Linked DNA regions of Homo sapiens: region 1 is linked to region 2. Evidence: promoter capture Hi-C in 16 types of primary human blood cells and fetal thymus (Javierre and others, 2016). All regions are on one chromosome and are shown on one strand. The core of a region is centred on a gene start or on the middle of the fragment in contact, and the rest is flanking DNA. Distances in the headings are between cores, read along the strand shown. Region 1 has its middle 26 kb from the start of TSR2. Region 2 holds the start of MAGED2 (MAGE family member D2).

Evidence for each region. The method cuts DNA at HindIII sites, captures the fragments that hold promoters and counts their contacts. A CHiCAGO score of 5 or more calls a contact.
Region 1: a fragment that was not itself captured here is called in contact with the fragment with the promoter of MAGED2 in region 2 in 1 of 17 cell types (activated CD4 T cells); the score reaches 5.5 in activated CD4 T cells.

What each region holds. Positions count from the first base shown.
Region 1 is chrX:54,411,886-54,416,242 of GRCh38, forward strand. No RefSeq gene overlaps it. Among named protein-coding and RNA genes, the nearest start is that of TSR2, 26 kb to the right of the region's middle. RefSeq lists a silencer at 4,157-4,357. The HindIII fragment of the contact is 1,814 bases long and covers 578-2,391 here.
Region 2 is chrX:54,804,775-54,808,994 of GRCh38, forward strand. MAGED2 (MAGE family member D2) reads left to right here and starts at 2,971. Exons shown (of 13, transcript NM_177433.3): 1 at 2,971-3,028. The HindIII fragment of the contact is 6,434 bases long and covers 1-4,220 here.

The DNA of each region.
Region 1 (4,357 bases), core at 235-2,734, 390 kb before region 2:
CCTAAAAACATGACAGTTGTTCTTTTTGGGGGCTATCCAATTTCATACTTTCCACTGTGTGCAGTCTTGGCAAGAGGGGAATTCCTAACACCTGCTTCACACTGCAGGCTCCCATTACAAAAACTGAAGGGGCCAGATCTTTTCTTTACCTGATCCCTGGTATAGACATGGTATGGGCACTTGACCCAAATTTGGCTCACTCTTAGGACTTTGATGCAATGATGGAAGAAATTTTGGAAGTAAGACTGTTCCCTGAAATTTCAATGATATCACAAATACTTTTTCCTTCCCATTCCTCCAGATAAAGAATCAAAAGAACTTGTGCTCTGGGCTCTATTGTGGGCCTCATAGAACCTAGGATATCCTAAGTCTGTTCCCTAAGTATCAGCTTTATTCCCCAGTGTGTGTGAGTCTATTATAGGGGACCCCTAGCCGAGGCTGCACTTCTGGTTATCAGAGAAAAGTCATAGATTGATTCATTCAACAAAAACTTATTCAGTACCTGCTTTGGGTCAGGCACTGTTCTAGATGCTGTGATACAATACTGTACAAGACAGACATGTTCTCAGCTCTCATAAGCTTACATTCCAGTGGGCAAGACAGATAATAAATAAACACATTCAGAGAGTAATAAGTTATATGAAGAAAATAAAACATGAAAAAGTAATAGAGTGGTACATTGGGGGTGGAGTGGGGAAGACAGCATTAAATAAAGTAGATGGGGAAGGCCTATTTAAAGAGATGACATTTGAGCTGAGACCTGAAGCATAAGGAATCAGTGCTGTGGATATCTAGAGGAAAATAATTCCAGGCAAAAGAAAAAGCAAGTATAAAAACCCTAGATGGGATGAGTTTAATATGTTTAAGAAACAGAAACAAGGCCAGTGTGGCTGGGGTAGAGCTAATGGGAGGTAGGAAGTCATATTGGAGAAATTGCTTAACGATGGGAACACATTAAAGAAAAAAGAAAAGTTCAGAGTTATTGAGAGGCCAGATCATGTGTGGTCTTATAGACTACTATAAGGACTTTGATTTCTTTTCTTTTTTTTTTTTTGAAATGGAGTCTCACTCTGTCATCCAGGCTGGAGTGCAGTGGCACGATCTCAGCTCACTGCAACCTCTGCCTCCCAGGTTCAAGCAATTCTCTTGCCTCAGCCTCCCGAGTAGCTGGGATTACAGGCGCCCACCACCATGCCTTGCTAATTTTTTTTTTTTTTTTTTTTTTAGTAGAGACAGGGTTTCGCCATGTTGGCCAGGCTGGTCTCGAACTCCTGACCTCAGGTGATCCGCTTGCCTCCGCCTCCCAAAGTGTTGGGGTGACAGGCATGAGCCACTGAGTCCCGCCAGGACTTTGATTTTGACTCTGAGTGAGGTGGGAGCCATAGGAGGATTTTTAACAGGGGAGGGATTTGACTTTGCTTTACACAGGACACCTCTGGTTGCCTACTAAACTATAGGGGGCAAAGGTGGAAGTGGGAACAGGGTTGCTTTAAGTGCTGTTTGTCTATCATTGTGTGACTTTGAAAAGGTGCTTCCTCTGGGTGGACATAGCCCCATGGCACTTGGCTTGGAAAGAAGGGCCCTTGTCACCGGGCACAGTGGCTCATGCCTGTAATCCCAGCCCTTTGGGAGGCTGAGGCGGGCGGATCACGAAGTCAGGAGTTCAAGACCAGCCTGGCCAATATGGTGAAACCCCATCTCTACTAAAAATACAAAAAAAAAAAAATTAGCTGGGCGTGGTGGTGCGCACCTGTAATCCCAGCTACTTGGGAGGCTGAGGCAGAAGAATTGCTTGAACCAGGGAGTCAGAGGTTGTAGTGAGCCAAGATTGTGCTACTGCACTCCAGCCTGGCGACAGAGCAAGACTCCGTCTCAAAAAAAAAAAAAAAAAAAAAGAAAAAAGAAAGGGCCCTTGTCTAAAGAGAAAGATGCCTCTTCCTCCTGCAGGTGTAGCCCCACACCAGGGTTCATGGCTTGGCACTAGAGTACAGGCTGGATTTCAGCCCCTACTGGGCCCCTTAGCCAGATGTCCTTGTGCAATGCACAAACCACAGAACTGTCTGCGGCCTCGATCAAAGAGACTGGTAGAAGGCTGTTTTGGCAATGCAGATGAGAGATGATGATGGCTTGGATCAGGGTGGTAGTGGGGTGGAGGGAGGCAAATGCACAAGGGAAATGCTGAGAATATCCTTAGCCCTGAGTTTCAGTCCTAGCTCTGGGAAGAATGGAGTGTTATTGCTTCTCTAAGAACAGCTGTAACATCCACCAAACATGTGGGTTCAGACTCATTCTGGCCCTAAGCAATTCCCCAAAGGGAGAAGTTAGGGTGGTTACTCTGGGAATTGTGGGGAGGGTTTCTCTCCTCATGGAAAGATGCCATAGCCCCCAGAAAGCTTTGGCTCCCAGGAAGGTTGGCAGCCAATAGGCTGTGCTCTCAAGGGAGTCCAGGAGCAGTTGTGCTTCTGTGTAAATTGTGCAATATGAGGATATTAATTTGTCATAATGATCGAATATATGTTCCAAGCAGCTAGATTGGGCTTGGCAGTTAGTGGACACACAGAATTCTTCAGCCCTAGCCCTAGTTCCTCCATGGACTCACTGAGGAATCTTAGACAAATCGTTTCCCCTTTCTGAGACATAGTTTCTTCATTTGTACCATGTGAGTAATATTCCCTGCAAATAAAAGGTTTTTGGAGCAAATGGAATGAAACCGTGGATGTGAGGGAAACTATTGGAAAGCTGGCCATATAATTGCGGGTATCGTGATGTTGCAGTGCCTCTTTCTCTCCTAACTGTCCCCTTAGTCCAGTTCTCATCCTTTTTGCCAGGACTTCTAGAAGAGCTCCCAGCTGGTTGCCCTGCCTTTGGTCTCCTTGTTGGCTCACCTGGTCTTCCTGAACCTTAAATTTCCTGAAAAAAACCTTTTTTTTGGTGTTTTTTTTGTTTGTTTTTTTTATTTTTTGAGACGGAGTCTCGCTTTGTTGCCCAGGCTGGAGTGTAATGGTGCAATCTCGGCTCATTGCAACCTCCGCCTCCCAGTTACAGCGATTCTCCTACCTCAGCCTCCTGAGTAGCTGGGACTACAGGCGCAGGTCACCATGCCCAGCTAATTTTTGTTTCTGTTTTTGTTTTGAGAGGGCGTCTTGCTCTGTCGCCCAGGCTGGAGTGCAGTGGCTCAATCTCTGCTCACTGCAGGCTCCGCCTCCCGGGTTCACACCATTCTCCCGCCTCAGCCTACCAAGTAGCTGGGACTACAGGTGCCTGCTACCACGCCTGGCTAATTTTTGTGTTTTTAGTAGAGATGGGGTTTCACCGTGTTAACTAGGATGGTCTCAATCTCCTGACCTAGTGATCCGCCCACCTCGGCCTCCCAAAGTGCTGGGATTACAGGCGTGAGCCACCATGCCCGGCTGATTTTTGTATTTTTAGTAGAGACGGGGTTTCACCATATTGGCCAGGATGGTCTCGAACTCCTGACCTCAGGTGATCCACCCACCTCGGCCTCCCAAAGTGCTGGGATTACAGACGTGAGCCACCGCACCCGGCCAAGCCCCCAGATTTATAAGGGGAGGCAACAGCTAGGTGCATTGCAAGGATGTGGACAGAACAGAAATGATGTTGTCCTAAGAAAGGTTAGTTGGGTGGTACTCAGACCACTGTGATCCTTCCCCAGGAGGGTTAGAGGAGACTGTTCCATCCACTTTTCTTTCCCCTTTCTTTTCTTCTTTTTTCTTCTGTTTCTCCTTCCCTTTGTTTTTCTTTGTCCTTTCCTCCTTCCTCGCCACCCTCTGTGCTGTCCCCTTTCTCTCTCTCTGTGATGCAGATTACTGCTTTGCTGTCTCTCTTCTCCCTCCCTTTGATGGGTTGGTCTTTGGGTCTGCCTGCTCCTGTCCTCTCTTGTCCCCCTGACCCCCTGCCCTGCCTCCAGTGCCCTATGGTTCCATGTCCTCCTCATTCCCACTCTACCTTTCCTCCCGCACCCCACGTTTACGGATGAGCAACCTCTCAGAGTCTGGAAGTCCCGCAGCTGTTCTGAGACGCTGGGGCCTCCCACCACTGGGGCCGGAAAAAGGCCGACCCTCTGGAGGGGCCAAGGGGGAGGGGTAGCAGGAAAAAGGGGCGTTACACTTGCAGCTTTCTTTTTGGCCATTCATTTTGGAGGGGAAAAGTGAAACAAAGGAATTTAAAACTTCCTCTTTTGTCCTGCCCTAGATGCAACTAATGATGGTCTAAGAGCTTAGTTTGCCTTTCTAGGAATGAAAACTCTTCTAAGAAACCGCATCTTTTAAACACTTGGTTTGCCGTGGACCACAGCATCTGATAAGACAATGAAAACAGAAAAGCTTTTAAAGCCAAC
Region 2 (4,220 bases), core at 1,721-4,220:
GTGACCCTAGTCCTCATGGCCTTTATTCTGGGAGGCTATGTATCTAGCTAAAAATCAGGTGACTTATTACTAAGGAAGAAGAGGAGGATGAATACTAGGGTAAGCAATTAGCAAGCTATGCCACAAACATGTGCACTGAAACTATTCCTTCCAAGGTCACCAGAGACCACCACTTGATCGTCAAAATCCCCAGACATTTTTTCAGGTCTTACTTTTCTTGATTCTTGGCACCATTCATCACTATTGACCTTGACTCCTCCCTCCTTTTGAAACAATCTCTTCCCTTACTTTTGTGACACTCCTTTCTCCGGTTTTTTTTTTTGTGTTTGTTTGTTTGTTTTTTTTGATGGTGTCTCACTCTATCACCCAGGCTGGAGTGCAGCGGCACAATCTCGGCTCACTGTAACCTCTATCTCCCAGGTTCAAGCGATTCTCCTGCCTCAGCTTCCCGAGTAGCTGAGACTACAGGTGTGGTCCACCACACCCAGCTAAATTTTTGTATTTTTAGTAGAGATGGGGTTTCACCGTGTTGACCAGGCTGGTCCTGAACTCCTGACCTCAGGTGATCTGCCCACCTCAGCCTCCCAAAGTGCTGGGATTACAGGTGTGAGCCACCATGCCCGGCCCTCTCCTGTTTTTCTCTCTGCCTCTTTGGTCACTCCTTATCAGCCTCTTTCATGAGTTTCTTTTCCTCCACCTATACCAAAGATGCTGTTGGACTGCAGGGCTCTTCCGTGGGCCCATGTCTCTTCTAGCACTACGCATTCACCGGGGTGCTGTTACCCTTTCTCAGGAATTCAAGAACTATTTATGTACTGATGACTCCTAGATCTATAACCTCAGCCTAGACCACTTCTCTGAGCTTCAGATATGTATATTCAACTGCCTGTGGTACATTTCCACCTGGACATGCCACAGGTGCCTCAAAAGCAATGTTCAGTTCTTGTCTAACCTGCTCCTCAAACCCGCTCTTCCTTCAGTATTCCTGATCTCAGTGAAAGGGGTTACCATTCACACAATCTCTCAAATCAGATCGCCAAGAGTTCCCTTTGACACTCCCCTCCTCCTTGCCCTTCTCTTCACAATCCAGTTACTCAAGTCCAGTTACTTTTTACTTCTTTACTATCTCCTCGATTCAATCACTTCTCACTATCTGCCACCACTCTAGGCCAAAGCACAATCATTGCTTACCTAGATGACTACAAAAGTCATAAGCACTCTCCCTGTTTCCAAGACAACACCTAATCCACACTCCATATAGCAGCTAGGTGTTCTTTCTAAAACACAAACCTATGCTGTATCCTTGCCTAGAATTCTTTAGTAACTCCTGGGTGCTCTCAGGATCAACACCAAAGTCCTCATCTTGGCATTCTAAACTTGCCAACTTGCCATGATTTGGAAGGGGTGGGGAATTTGAGATGCCAGAAGTAGAAGAAAAGGAGGGGCTATGTCTAGTGTGGATAAGGGAGAAAATCTAGGAGGCAAGAACATGGTGAACTGATATCACACACTTGGAGAAAGCAATAATTCAGAGAAAGAGAAAAGACAGGAAAACAGAAGCCTGCCTTGAATATGCAAGAAATTTGTGTGTTTGTCTATCTTGAATTATCCATGGAACACAGGGATTCATTATATGTTATTTACATAGTAAAAGGTGACCACATAAAGCAGAAGACTTGTGTCCATTTGAATTACATTTATATGTGGAAAGGCACTGAATATTATTTCTGCAACTAACAGTTGTGCTGAATTTTATTATGGTTTCTAATAACTTTTTAGTTGATGCTCTTGGGTTTTCCAGGTCTGCATTTATATATTCAGTAATTAATGATGATTTGTCTATTTCCTATTATTTTACATCTTATTTTGTTCTCTTGAACAGATCCAATTGGTTATGTGAATTTATTATGTGATAGAGGTGCCATTTCAAAGCAGAGAGGGAAAAGATGGATTAGTTTGCACATGATGTAGAGGTAAGAGACTATGATTTTGAAGAGTAATCAAGCTGAATCCGTATAGAAAATAAATTTTGAAATGATCAAACATCTAAATGTAAATAATAAAGCCACAAAAGTGCTTGAAAAAAAAAACGGGGTTTGTTATAGGAGTGTGAAAAGCATCTTTAAGCAAGCAGCAGAATCCAGTTGTGATGAAGGAAAAATGGATATATTTGACTACATAATAATTAAACATTTTTGTTTGGCAAAAATTATCATAAATAACATGAAAAATATTTGTAATATGTGACATGTACAGGAGAGACATTGCTGGCGGGAATGTTATCCATTTACTTTTTAGGAGTAAGTTGACAAATTTTGCATCAAAATGGAAGACTTTTTTGTAGCATTTGAGCTAGCAAAAAATACCATAAATAACAAAAAGTGCACCAAGCAATCTAAATGTACATGTGTACTGGACTGGTTCAATAAATTATGGGACATCTATGCAAGAAAAGATCATGCAGCTGTTTAGAAAAATGTGCACTAACGGAAAGATGTTTTATATATAACTGGAAAAAAACAGGTCGCAGAACAGAAGGTATGTATAGTGTACCATTTGTCGGAGAGAGAACCTGAATAATTAGTATACGAATAGAAAAAAAATCTGGATAGCAAAATGTTAATAGTGGTTATTTCTGGGAGATGAGTGGCCTTTCATTGGTGTGTTATATATTACTGCATTGTTTGAATTTTTACAACAACAACAAAAGAACAACATATTACCTTTGTAATAAGAAAAAATGAAGATATAAAAATAAATTCAATGAATGACTTGCTTTCAGGGGGCGGTTTGAGTTGGAAGAGCTTCAGACTGAGCCTGGTACAGTGGCATAAACATGGGCTTTGGCGTCAGACAGCCCTGAGCGGGGCCCCATTGCCCCACCCCCGAGGAAGGCGAGGGGGGGTGGCAGGGGGCTGCGGAAAGGGGCTGGGCTGGGTTGGGCTGTCTGCAGCTCTAGTCCAGGAGGCTGAGACTTCGAGAGGGACTTAGAGAAGGCAGACGCATCCCGAACTCGCTGGAGGACAAGGTGAGGGGCGTTGATATTGGGGTTTTATGGAGGTCAGACAGTGGTTCCAGACCCCTCGAACCCATAGCCAGGCAGATGAGCAATTCTTACTGCACCACTGCAGCTGAAGCAGAGGTGACCTGGAGTGGGGTGTAGGCAATGAGGACGACTGAGAAAGTAGTAGGCTGTACAGACTGGGAGCAGAGACTAGCGGAGGGAGGAGGGGAGAAAAACGGGGAACCAGGAATGTTGGGAGGGGGACGAGGAATACAAGGAGGGAGGGGAACACTGAGGGGGAGTGAAGATCCAGAGAAGAGAATCGGGGATGCAGAGAGGGATTAAGGAATACTGAGGGGCAGGGTGTGCAAACGTAACACGGAGGAGGATGTAAGAAATGGGAAGAAGGAATTCTGGAGTAAATAGGAAATGTGAGGTAGGAATAGGGAGTAGGGAGCCAGGCTAAGGGAATACGGAGGGGGGCATAAGGAATGAGGAGCAGGGAGCGGGGGAGGGGCAGACAGGCTGGGACGGAGGCCCCCTAGGGAGGCGGAAAGGGGCGGGACCACTTCCGGCCTAGAGAGGGGAGGGCAGTCTCCGAGTTTCGGAGGGGCTTGGAGTGAGTGGACGCACTCGGGAATTGTAGGAGGACGAGGTGAGCAGCCGGGTCGGCTTTTGGATGAGAGCCCCGCTAGGGGTCGGCCCCACCCTCTGGGATCTGGAGAAAACCTGCCTTAAGGACCGGATCGTACCGGATCCATCCGGCTGGGAAGGGAGGGGACTGGACCCGGTTTGGCCGGGCCCAAGATGGAATCACTAGCTCAGTATTTATTTGAGGAGGGGGTGTAATAGGGAAGGGGCGGAACCAAGATGCGCCTGTTTGGAGGGGGGCGTGTTAGGAAGAAGGGCGGGGCCAAGAGACACTGGACTCTGTAGGGCGTGAGTAGGGGAGGGGCCGGGTCCACCAGACACTGCGACAATTTTGGAGGAAGGCTTGTTGGGCAGGGGGCGGGACCGAATGGTACTGCGGACCTGGAGAGGGGCGTGTGTTGGGGCAGAGTGCCAGACTGAGACCACGACCATTGCGCATGCGCACTATGTTTCGCTAGAAAGGGGCGTGTTGAGAAGGGCCAGCACTGAGAAGAGCCAGCTGCTGAATGCGCATGTGCACGGTGGACATCAAAGAAAGGGCTCGTGCTGGGAAAGCGGGCGGGGC